Regions from separate parts of the Homo sapiens genome. Here regions 1 and 2 are each linked to region 3. Evidence: promoter capture Hi-C in human tissues and cell types (Jung and others, 2019). All regions are on one chromosome and are shown on one strand. Each heading gives the region's core, a stretch centred on a gene start or on the middle of the fragment in contact. The rest is flanking DNA. Distances are from core to core; before and after follow the strand shown.

Evidence for each region. Contacts are between HindIII fragments. The study calls those that stand out against the background at their distance.
Region 1: a fragment that was not itself captured here is called in contact with the fragment with the promoter of RAB8B in region 3 in 1 of the 25 tissues and cell types used here (H1 embryonic stem cells).
Region 2: a fragment that was not itself captured here is called in contact with the fragment with the promoter of RAB8B in region 3 in 1 of the 25 tissues and cell types used here (aorta).

The regions. Positions count from the first base shown.
Region 1 is chr15:62,759,009-62,762,970 of GRCh38, forward strand. TLN2 (talin 2) reads left to right here. Exons shown (of 59, transcript NM_015059.3): 38 at 2,673-2,813; 39 at 3,264-3,445. Among named protein-coding and RNA genes, the nearest start is that of MIR190A, 63 kb to the right of the region's middle. RefSeq lists an enhancer at 1-683. The HindIII fragment of the contact is 6,877 bases long and covers 1-3,962 here.
Region 2 is chr15:62,787,744-62,791,205 of GRCh38, forward strand. The region is part of intron 45 of TLN2 (talin 2); the gene reads left to right. Among named protein-coding and RNA genes, the nearest start is that of MIR190A, 34 kb to the right of the region's middle. The HindIII fragment of the contact is 6,484 bases long and covers 1-3,462 here.
Region 3 is chr15:63,187,567-63,191,044 of GRCh38, forward strand. RAB8B (RAB8B, member RAS oncogene family) reads left to right here and starts at 2,040. Exons shown (of 8, transcript NM_016530.3): 1 at 2,040-2,182. The coding sequence starts at 2,059. LOC101928972 (a long non-coding RNA gene) reads right to left here and starts at 1,865. Exons shown (of 4, transcript XR_932355.4): 1 at 1,280-1,865. RefSeq lists an enhancer at 1,465-1,614 and a silencer at 1,795-2,124. The HindIII fragment of the contact is 5,046 bases long and covers 1-3,478 here.

The DNA of each region.
Region 1 (3,962 bases), core at 1,161-3,660, 430 kb before region 3:
AAGGGGGAACACTTGGAGCAGGCTCCGGGCTTGGGAGTGTTCTTGTTCTGGTGGGGCCTGGAAATATGGCTGAGTAAATTTACCCTTTCATCATTATGGCTGGTATGCCAGATGTTCTGTGACATGGAAACTCTCATGCTTGCTTGAAATGTCACCACTGGGCAGCTTTGAGTATTCAGTTTACTTGAGTGGCTCTGCTGTGCCCAATGGAAGCAGAGTTCAGAAGTGAAATAATACCTGTGCAAACTATCCTTTCTGACGCCGGATGCCTTTTCTGGATAAAATAACTTGTCCTTTTTGAGAATGGAAAATGATTGATATGGCTTGCTATTCTAGTTCATGTTATTCAAGGCTTTGACCTGCAAATAGCAATGGGCTATATGTTAATATGATTTTAGGGCCTGTGCTCAAAACAAAAGCCCCAAACAAACAAACAAACAAACAAACCCTGTCTTTATTCTAATAGTGCTGTCTGTGACACCTACACAATTAGAAAACCATTCCTTGAGATTTCCCTTGAGTTGTCATCTTTTTAGTCTGAAGAAGTTCAGCTTAGGCTTAGTGGCTTGATTGGCTGCCCTTCTTCCCAATAGACTGAGAGGTTTGTGGGAGCAGAAAGGGGAAGAGAAAAGCTTGGAGAGGTAAGAAGCAGGAAGGGCGAGCAGCACCAAGGGAAGGCTGAGCATCTCCTGTTAAGCTGGAAGTCGTGTGATCCCAGCTGAAGGGGTATGATTGGAGAAAGCCATGTAGCCACTGGTGGGGCTGGGACCTGAGTTTCTTCCACTCCAAAGTCCACTCTTGCAATCAGCCTGCTTCACTCTTTTGCCTGTGTTTGGGCCCATCTGTGTCAGGCTCCTGCTGAGTGGCACCCACCCTGCCTCGCACTGGTGTTCTCAAATTGCTCTGAAGTCTGGTAAACCCCGACCTCCAGGGATCTACCAAACTTCAGAGCGATATTAACAGTGCAACAAGATCACAGTACCAAAGTGGTTCACTTCTACGTGGCCAGTGCCGGCAGCATAAATCAACATTTACCAGCTATGTAAGTGGTAGTGAGAAATGAGGCTTTATATGTGAGCAAGAAGTAGCCGGCGTGCAAGGGTTTCCATTGGGCCTGGAAAAATGGCAGAACTGGAGAGGTGAGGGTAGGGTCAGGGCCTGTCTGGTGGGGGAAGGGCATGAGCCAAGGCAAGCCAGGTACTATATTAGCAAAAAACAGTAAATTAGCCAGGCTTGCGGGAATTCCTCTGAAAATATTAGCATTGTGGGTATGTAATTATTGTCCCAAGCTGCCAAGGCTTGATTGGAATGTAGTTGTTATTCAGAAATCGCCTTCAAACCAACGGTGGCTGCCTCCTCTTGCTCTACTGAAAAACAGAAATGCTCCCATCTCAGATCTGCTTTGCTTGGTAATGCCAGTGCCCCTGTTTTTTTTTTATCCCAATTGTCTAAATTGGCTTTATATGTTGCTCATAAGGGTTAAGTTAAAAGTTTAAGTGGTCATTTAACAAGGAAATTTGCATTCTTCTGCAAACATAACTGCCTTGTCAAGTGTAGCCTTTTGCTGGGAGGGAGGGTTTCTGTCATTGGGTCACAGGCTGTAGGTTCTAACAGTCTTGATCCTGAGGAGGTAGAGTCCAGGGCTGGGAACCTCATCGAAGTGTTGACCCTCTGTTAGCAGTCTAGCATGGATCACAGGCCACATTCCTGGATCCTTATCCATCCAGACCGTAAATCAGCAATAGGCCTGATCATGCAATGCCATTGTGTTACCTGCTGTTAGTTTTTTGTTTTTGTTTTTTTTTAATTATGAAGCATAAGATACACACAGAGAAAACACGTTATGTTTAGAGTTCAGTGAATTTTCTCAAGTGGAACACCCCTTGGTAACTCTAGCCAGATTAAGAAACAGAATGTTATTGACACCCAGAAGCTTTCCTTATGCTCTCTCCGGTCTTATCTGCTCTTCTAACACCCTAGATTAGGAGGGTCACCTGTGTTTGCACTTGGTACTAATGGAATTGTACAGGAGGCACCCATTTGTGGGTGGCCCGTTTTGTTAAATATGATGTTTGTGAGATTTATTTGTATGGCTGGGGGTAGTTCTCATCTATTCCTTCTCATTAGATTCCATTGTGTTCATTTCAGAATGATGACAGTTATGCCTGCCTTGCCTCCATCAGTCATTAGGGAATATCCAGGTAAAACTTAGAAAAAGTTAAAAGTACTGCTTTAAAATACAATACGGTATGTTTATTGTTTGGAAGAGAATAGATTTAATCTGAGTAAAATGAAGGCAAAGATCCCAAGGATTGTAGTCTCAAAAGTGAGGAGGAAAGTAGTCCCGCTGCATAGTCTGGTGCAGGGGGTCACGGGGCGTTGAAGAGCAGGGTGCTGTTTAAATCTGTGTCTCTGCTTCCTGGGAGTGGAAAGTTGACTGTGGAGTCAGTTGTCCTGTGAGCTACACATTTAATTCTCCACAACATCTAACTGGGCCCCTCTGCTTGATGGCAGGGGTCTCTTTCATCAGTTCCTATTTATTGTTTATGAAGTCACCAGAGATTTTCAGTGTTCCGGTTGAACCACCTTCTTTCACTAAGAGGTGATTACTGTGGTTCAGAAATAATTTGTGCTTCTCAATTGGGCAGAATCTCCCTGTTTTCTCCCATCAGGCCCTGGATGGGGATTTCTCTGAAGACAACCGCAATAAGTGTCGCATCGCCACCGCACCCTTGATTGAAGCTGTGGAGAACCTGACAGCGTTCGCCTCAAACCCTGAGTTTGTCAGCATTCCTGCCCAGATCAGCTCCGAGGTAGGGAGTGTTTACAGGAACATCATACTAAGGTCTTTGGCTAACTTTGTGTGGCACCAAATGAGTTACTAGTTAAAACTCCAACAGCTCTCTCTGTCAACATGTAGGCTACTGTTACTCTTGTCAATGATGGCATGTGCACAGTTAGTGAAACACAATGACTACACCTCTGTTGAGAGATAACATATATGTAGAGAACAATCTTACTGCCTAGGTTTGGGGCGATTCTTGGGATGTGTCACACTCAAAAAATGCTATTTAAGGGGCAAACATGGGCTTGAGTCCCCGCCATGCAGACCCCTGGTAATCCAGTCTTCATGGTTCCCTGCCCTCTTTGTCTCCTTCAAAGGGCAGAGGTGGTGATTTGGCAAAGAACAGGACCTTTCAGGGCCCACGTCATTCACTCATGTCTTCGACCCTGACTTTGATTTCTCTGCTGTTTGGTCTCAGGGTTCCCAGGCACAGGAACCAATCCTGGTCTCAGCCAAGACCATGCTGGAGAGTTCATCGTACCTCATTCGCACTGCACGCTCTCTGGCCATCAACCCCAAAGACCCACCCACCTGGTCTGTACTGGCTGGACATTCCCATACAGTGTCCGACTCCATCAAGAGTCTCATCACTTCTATCAGGTCAGTTTCCCATCCGGAGGTTGCTGCCAGCCTGCATCTCAGCGGGGAAGGAGGAGGATAAGCCCACCAGGCTTTTTACTTAATAGTGATATTGTTGATCATTATCATCTTTTTCTTTTCTCTTTGGGGCCGGAAGCACTGGTCACAATAGTAATTGCTAACTTAAGTACTTACCATATACCAAATACTACTACAAGTGCTTTATCTGTGTTACTTTATTTGAACATCACAATAGTCTTATAAGGTACCACTGTCATTATTTCCATTGTACTGATGAAAAAATTTAGGCAGAAAAATTTGGGTAATATCCCCAAGGTCACCTTAAGGCCCAATGGCTGTCTAATCACTGTACTACATTGTCCGTATCTAGGAGTTTAGTCATTGAGCACCGTTGTTTATTTAGCAGGATTTGTGGTTGCAGTTAGTTTGCTAATAAGACAAAGAATATTCTAGGGCCTGCAGTAACTCTGAGCATCTCTGACCTTGTCGATAGTGGGAGCCTAAAAAGACATCCCCA
Region 2 (3,462 bases), core at 185-2,684, 400 kb before region 3:
GTACAATGGTGTGATCTCGGCTCACTGCAACCTCCGCCACCGGGTTCAAGCGATTCTCCTGCCTCAGCCTCCTGAGTAGCTGAGATTACAGGCACCCACCATCATGCCAGGCTGATTTTTGTATTTATAGTAGAGACGGGGTTTTGCTACATTGTCCAGGCTGGTCTCGAACTCCTGGCCTCAAGTGATCCACCCATCTCAGCCTCCCAAAGTGCTGGGATTACAGGCGTGAGCCACTGTGGCCAGTCTAAATCTCTTATCTTTTTGGATACAGACTCAAAAAATGAATTTCCTCTGTGGCTCACGCCTGTAATCCCAACACTTTGGGAGGCCGAGATGAGTGGATCACTTGAGGCCAGGAGTTCGAGACCAGCCTGGGCAACATGGCGAAACCCTGTCTCTACTACAAATACAAAAATTAGCCGGGCATGGTGGGGGGTGCCTGTAATCTCAGCTATTCAGGAGGCTGAGGCAGGAGAATCGCTTGAACCCGGGTGGCGGAGGTTGCAGTGAGCCAAGATCGCACCATTGTACTCCAGCCTAGACAAAAAGAGCGAAACTCCATCTCAAAAAAAAGAAACAAAGAATTTCCTTTCAAGGATGTTCCCCTAGTAAAACAAAATGTTCTGGGAAATTGCCAGTAGACTGTTGGTTCTGTTGTCCTCTTTCATTTAAATGCCCTAGCTGTTCCATGTGCCTCTGCAAAGTAATGGTAAGAGAGTTATTATTTATCAAGTCCTACCGCATGTCAGATGCTGTGATGGGCCCAATCTTGTTTCTCCTCACAACTGCAGTGAGATAACAATCTTTTTTTCTTCCCCATTTCACAGATAAGTAAACCCAGGCTCAGGGAACTTAGTTAAACTGCCCAAGACCACACAACTACAGTCGCTAGTATGCGAGCCACTTTAAATAACTTTTTGGAATAAGCGAATGTTCCAAGTAAGTAAATAAGTTAACAAGTAAATATGTGGAGTAGCCAGGATTCAAACCCAGGTTAGTCGGGCATCACAACCCTGGCTGCCTCTCTGTACCAGTCTGCCTCCTTTTCCAGCAGTACACATTCATATGGCACTTTCATCTTTTTGAGATTTTCCACATGTACCTGTTCATTTGACCATCCCATCAGCCCCCAGAATGGGACATAGCTTCTGTCCTGTGTCACAGGGGAAGGAACAAAGGCCCCTCAAGGTTAATGGGCTCACCCAGAATGTCAGGTTCCCAAGGAGAAGGCAGAGCTGGATGAAGGTCCCTAGTCCTTTCTGCTGCCCAAAGGGGTGAAACATTGAGAACAGGGCTGGCTGGGAATCCTGAGATCCCATTCTTCCTCTTAAATTCAGCCCTCCTGGCCCATGAACATCAGTGGATGAAGCCTGTTTCAGCTTGTCCTTGATAACCCTGCATCCCTTCCGTGTGCTGTCCAAATAGGATTGTGCAGACACACATGCAAGATACCTGTGAGGCTGAGCCTCAAGGGGGTCTCCAGGTACCTAGATGACAGTTGCGTGACTTGGCACAGCGCTGAATATGGAGGCAAAGCCCTGGGTTGACTGAGAACACCAAAGGCCTTTGCAGCTGTTGCCTCACTTACTCTCATCCCCTTGTTTTCTGGTGCTGGCCTTCCTTGGAGCTTCTTAACTGGAATTTTATTTCTGATGACCACTGGGCCAGCTGCACCATTGATCATATACAGGCTCCCTTGCTATATGCATCGTGTCACCTCCAAGAAAGGGGCCGGGCAGCAGGGCACTGGGGTATGTTTTTAGAGCGTAGCCTTTGGTGTGGGGTGGCACTAAGGGAACACAAAAGTGTTGTTGAGGATGTGTCCCACCATGGATCATGTCATCCCATAGGGTTCAGGTTCAAGACAGCTCAAGAGCGGGTCCTCCCTCCCTCCCACTCTCAAGGGGATTTAAGATACAGGTGTTCGTCCCGGTGCCTTGCATTTTGCAAATAGAAAGCTCAGGCTGGACTCTGCACGGGAGCAGGAGGAGTGCACAGAGAAGTTTGAGAGCCTGGGTCTCTTCTAGCATCATGGTTTCATGCCATGTTCTTCAAAACCCACGGAGAAGGTTCTGCATGTTTGCCCCTAGTGTCACTTTTTAAACTTAATTTAACTATTGTAGAAACTGTTAGGAAAACCCGCCTTGCTGTCAACCTTTCACTCATGTGGGTGGCAGAAAGGAGCTTTTGAGTGTGGTCTTGGCCAAATGGGAACCCCTTGGGGGCCACCGGTGCTTTGCTTCAGGCTGCTGGGTAGTTTTGTGCTGATCTCAGGCTGCTGCTGCTGCATCTGCCTTGTCCGCAGTGGTCAAGAACTGGGAGGAAACTGCTCTCCTTTGCTTTCTTTATGCATGTAACAGGATTTTCTCAACACTGTGTCACCAAAGCAAAACACAGAAATAATTTGGTGGCTAAGGCTGTAACTAGCCTTCATAACCTTATCTGTAAAACTTTGATTCACTCAGTCTCATTTTTGGCTTTTTATTGGGTCAAAGATACACATTTTAACTCATAAAGGAAGAGTATACTAATAACCCATTACTGCTATCCGTTTGACGTATTGAGATCCACAAGAGATTTAATTTCGAGAGGGAGAGGAAGGGTTCTGCTGCTAAGTCGAAAAATCAAAGAAGTTAGAAAAACACTGATCTACCGAGTAGAGCACTGTGCTCAGGATTAAAGACCTGGATTCTCACCTAGTTTTGCCAGGGACCAGCTGTGTGATCTTAGGCAAATCACATCACTTCTCTGGGTCTGTAAAATGGGGAGGTTGAACTGGTAAGATCTTTTTTACCTTGAAATTCTATAAATGTTTCTAACTCCATTTCCTTCTTACTTGACTTTTCCAGCAGCACTTTATCCTTTAAAGATCTGTGGTCATCACTGACCTCAGAGCCCTTGCCTCTAGATTATCTTACCCTGAAATACTTAGGTTTTAACTCTGTGGATCTGGAACACTTCAAGAGCCAGATTGTTTGAAACTTTAATGGGGTATACCCCTGCTTCAGCTTAACATTATTTTCAAACCAACAAACATGTCCCGCAAACACATATATTTAAATGACATGACATCTGTGTGGGCTGGAGTGTTTTTCCCGCCTCAGCGGCAGCCATACTACTACACCAGTCCAGATCTGTTTGCAGAGCTGCCGTGTTGTGCAGTCCAGAGGTGCTGCTGCTGTTGTATTCTGCATGGAGGTAGTCAACAAGACAGCCCTGCTTAATTATGAAATGTCTGTAGCACCCTGTGTACGAAGGTGTATAGAAGTGTATAGAAAGCACCCAAAAGAGCAGCAGCTTGGCTGGGCCTGGTGGCTCACACCTGTAATCTCAGCACTTTGGGAGGCCAAGGTGGGCGGATCACTTGAGGTGGACGGATCACCTGAGGTCAGGAGTTCGAGACCAGCCTGGCCAACATGGTGAAACCCCGTCTCTACTAAAAAAAAAAAAATACAAAAA
Region 3 (3,478 bases), core at 790-3,289:
TTAAAAAGAAATAAATTCCACTGGTCTTTGCGGAATTTTTTCCCCTTCTTTTCCAGGAATGAGGAGGAAGATATAGAACAATCCACACTGTTCAGATCATGGCTGAAGCCACGTTCAGAGGCTTGCTCAAGGACTGGCTTGGGCAAGAGGGCTCAGCCTGTGCCAGAGGGCAGAATCCTTCTTCATTAGGGGCAGACACTGTGACTTTGAACTCATTAGAGCTTTGTTCCTATCTAGTGGACTCTAGGAATGAGACATTCCGTAAGCAGCAGCAGCAGCAGCAGCAGCCCTCTGGCTACTGTATGATCAATCAGTTAATGATGACACATTTCATCTTTTACCCGCATAGAAAATGAAGGCCAATTCTAGGGCCAACTAAGTCTTCTGCCACAATGCAACTGAGAATGGATTATCAGTGGCACTGTTCCTAAAGTCACAAGGCACACAGTATGTGTCCTTAGAAAAGCCTGCTGGTTTGTTCAACTAACTGTCCACGGTTTTTCCCCCCCCCCCTTTTCTTATTCCACTAATGGTGGAGTCCACTGGTTCCCTTAATAACCTCTAGCCTTCCAGAAGGTGTTTCCTTATAGCTAAGGTAAATGTCTGGACCAGTGGTTCTCAAATACTTTGGTTTCAAGACCCCTTCATCCTCTTAAAACTTATTGAAGACTCCAAGAAGCTTTTTTTCATGTGGGTTTTACCTGTCGGTATTTGACATATTAGAAATTAAAACTTCGAAGGGAGAACAACAGATGAGAGACACAGAGCCCTGGCAGGGTGGACTCCTAGTCCCACACCTTCTTAGCCTTTTGCTTCCACATTACCTGAACCAGTCAACACCCCTTTCACAACAGCTAATCCGGTTGGGTTTCTGCCACTAGCAAATGAAAGGGGACTGAACAATACATCCACAAAACAGAGAATTAGCCTAAGACAATAAATAATAAAGGATTAACTTGAGTATAACAGAATGCTGTTTCCTCCCTATATTCGTCATCAATTAAGTGAGAGCCTACTGAAGAGTAATGAATATTACCATCACTGCTAACAGTGCCTTATGGGTTTCAAAGAACTTTCACATTTAGTATTTAAGTTTCACTGGAACCCTATGAAGTATCTTGTTTCATATCCATTTTACAGATGAGAAAACTGAAATGTCCAGTGCCTGTGTGACTTGTCACAGCGGTTTTGCAGCAGAGCCAAGACTAAATTCAAATCTTACTCTCTAAATTCCCGTGGCCCGCCTCACAGGATGCTTGCAGTTTCATGGGGCACAGACCTGTAGCACAAGACTTCCCAGATTTAAAAATCCATCCTCCTGCGAGGAGAGGGGAGCGATCAGCGTAGCAGATTCTCTAAATACTCATTGTATTTGGCTCTGGTCTGTGTGGCGTGAAGAAGGGGGCACGAGTGAGGTTCGAGTTAGCATGGTAACCATTCTTTCTCAGCTCTGTGACTGAGGGGCTGCGGGAGGGGGTTATAGTGGTGCTGGGCATGGCCTCGGGGAGAAGCTGGATAATGCCCTCTGCAGATAACCCGTAGGCTGCGCCACAGCAGCGCCAAGGAAAGAAAGCATCTCTGCTCCAGGTCTCGGCGGAAGAGATGCGGGAACTACGGGGCTCTGATTCTGAGGTCCTGGATTTGGAAGGCGTCTGCACACAAAGAAATAACAAAGTTAAGTTCCCGCGGCTCGACCAGCAGAGTACGAAACGGGGCCTCCCTTCCCAGCTCGGGTGGAAACGCCTCCACCCTGTCACCCCGCCCATAGCAGGTCTTTTATCCGCTGGAGCCGCCTGGACAGTCCTCGCGGGGCACGCCCGAGGCTCCCCGGAGGAACTACAAGTCCCATGAAGTCCCGGGGCGCGGGCGGTGATGACGAAGCCCTCGCCGATTGGCCGCACGGGGCGGGGCGCGCAGGCCTTCTCCGAGAGGAGGGGCGGGGCGTGGGGCGGGGCGAGCAGCGGCGGATTGGCGGGCACGCCCCCTCGCCCGCGGCCCCCTCCCCGCCTCTCTCCACCGCCTCCTCTGGCTCCCCGGTCAGAGGGCCGGAGCGAGAAGATGGCGAAGACGTACGATTATCTCTTCAAGCTCCTGCTGATCGGCGACTCGGGGGTAGGCAAGACCTGCCTCCTGTTCCGCTTCTCAGAGGACGCCTTCAACACCACCTTCATCTCCACCATCGGTGAGGGAGGGGCCGCGGCCCGGGACCGGGTAGAGAATTGGGGGGCGGGTACTAGGGGACGGGGAAAGGGCGGGGGGCGCTTGGGAGCCCGGGAGAGGAGACCCCGGGGACTGCAAGGTGGCGGGGGCACTGAGAGGGGCGAGGGCGTGAGGGAGAGGGGCGAGGGCGTGAGGGAGAGAGGCGAGCGGGAACGTGAGGCTAAGGGCGAAGGGGGAACTTGGGGGCAAAGGAACGGGAAGGGGAACAGAGGAACAAGGACTAGGGGTATTGGGGGAACGAGAGGGTTCGGAGACTGACAGGGAGGGGTCTTTGAGGGACAAAATGTGTTGGGGGGAAGACTCAGGAAATCTCATGTAGAGAGAAGGGGATAGTGGACGTGCCAATGATTAAAAGACAGGAGAGGAAGGAAATGTGAAGGGGGAAATGAGGGATGGGGGCAATGAGAGGGATGTGAAGTAAAGGGACAGAGGACACAAGGGACAGAGAGGTGAGAACCAGGCAACTGGAAGGGAATTCAGGGGAATGAGCGGTCAGGAGGTGAGGAAGAAGGGGACGGCTGGCCACAGGAGGTCTGGACTGAGATGTCGTAGGAGGGGACAGAAGAAAATTGTAGGTGGAAGAAGAGTTCAAGGGATCAGAGGGCAGAATGAGGATACTTGATGGAGAAAGTAAAGGGATCTGGGTGTGAGACAGAAAGGAAAAGAGGAAGCAACATCATAGTAAAGGGAGGTTGAGCAGAGAAGACAGAGGAGATGGAAAAGAGAGGAAATGGAAAGTAGTGGGGCGCAAGACTTGCTATAGTAACTGATTACCATTTTCTCTTCACTTCCTTTGGATCAAGTGCAGGAGAAAGCAAAATGTGACTAATGATGGAATAATGTCTATAGAGCGTTAATTTGTTCTGTGAGTGTTAATGGATGTTAAGGGAATTGGTGACTTTTGGAAATGATGTGGTCAGGAAAATATGGTTCACCTCTTTACTACCATCTCCTGAGAAGCAAGACTTCTCAGTATTTTAAATCCTTCGGTTTGAATGTTTAACAGCTTCTCAGCCAAGGAAATGAACTTACATTCTACCTGCCTCCCTGTATATTTTGCTTTGGTTCTAATTATTGTTAAGTGAATCACAACATGTGATATACCTCTCAGTTACTTCCAATTGAATCAAGAGTTTTTCTGATCCTGGCTGGGAGCTGTCCTTTCTACTTTTGTACTGGAAGACACTGTGTTCAGGTAATAAGATCTCTTAACTTATCATAAACTGAAGACCAAGTCAAAGCTGGTTTTAAGCTGTTT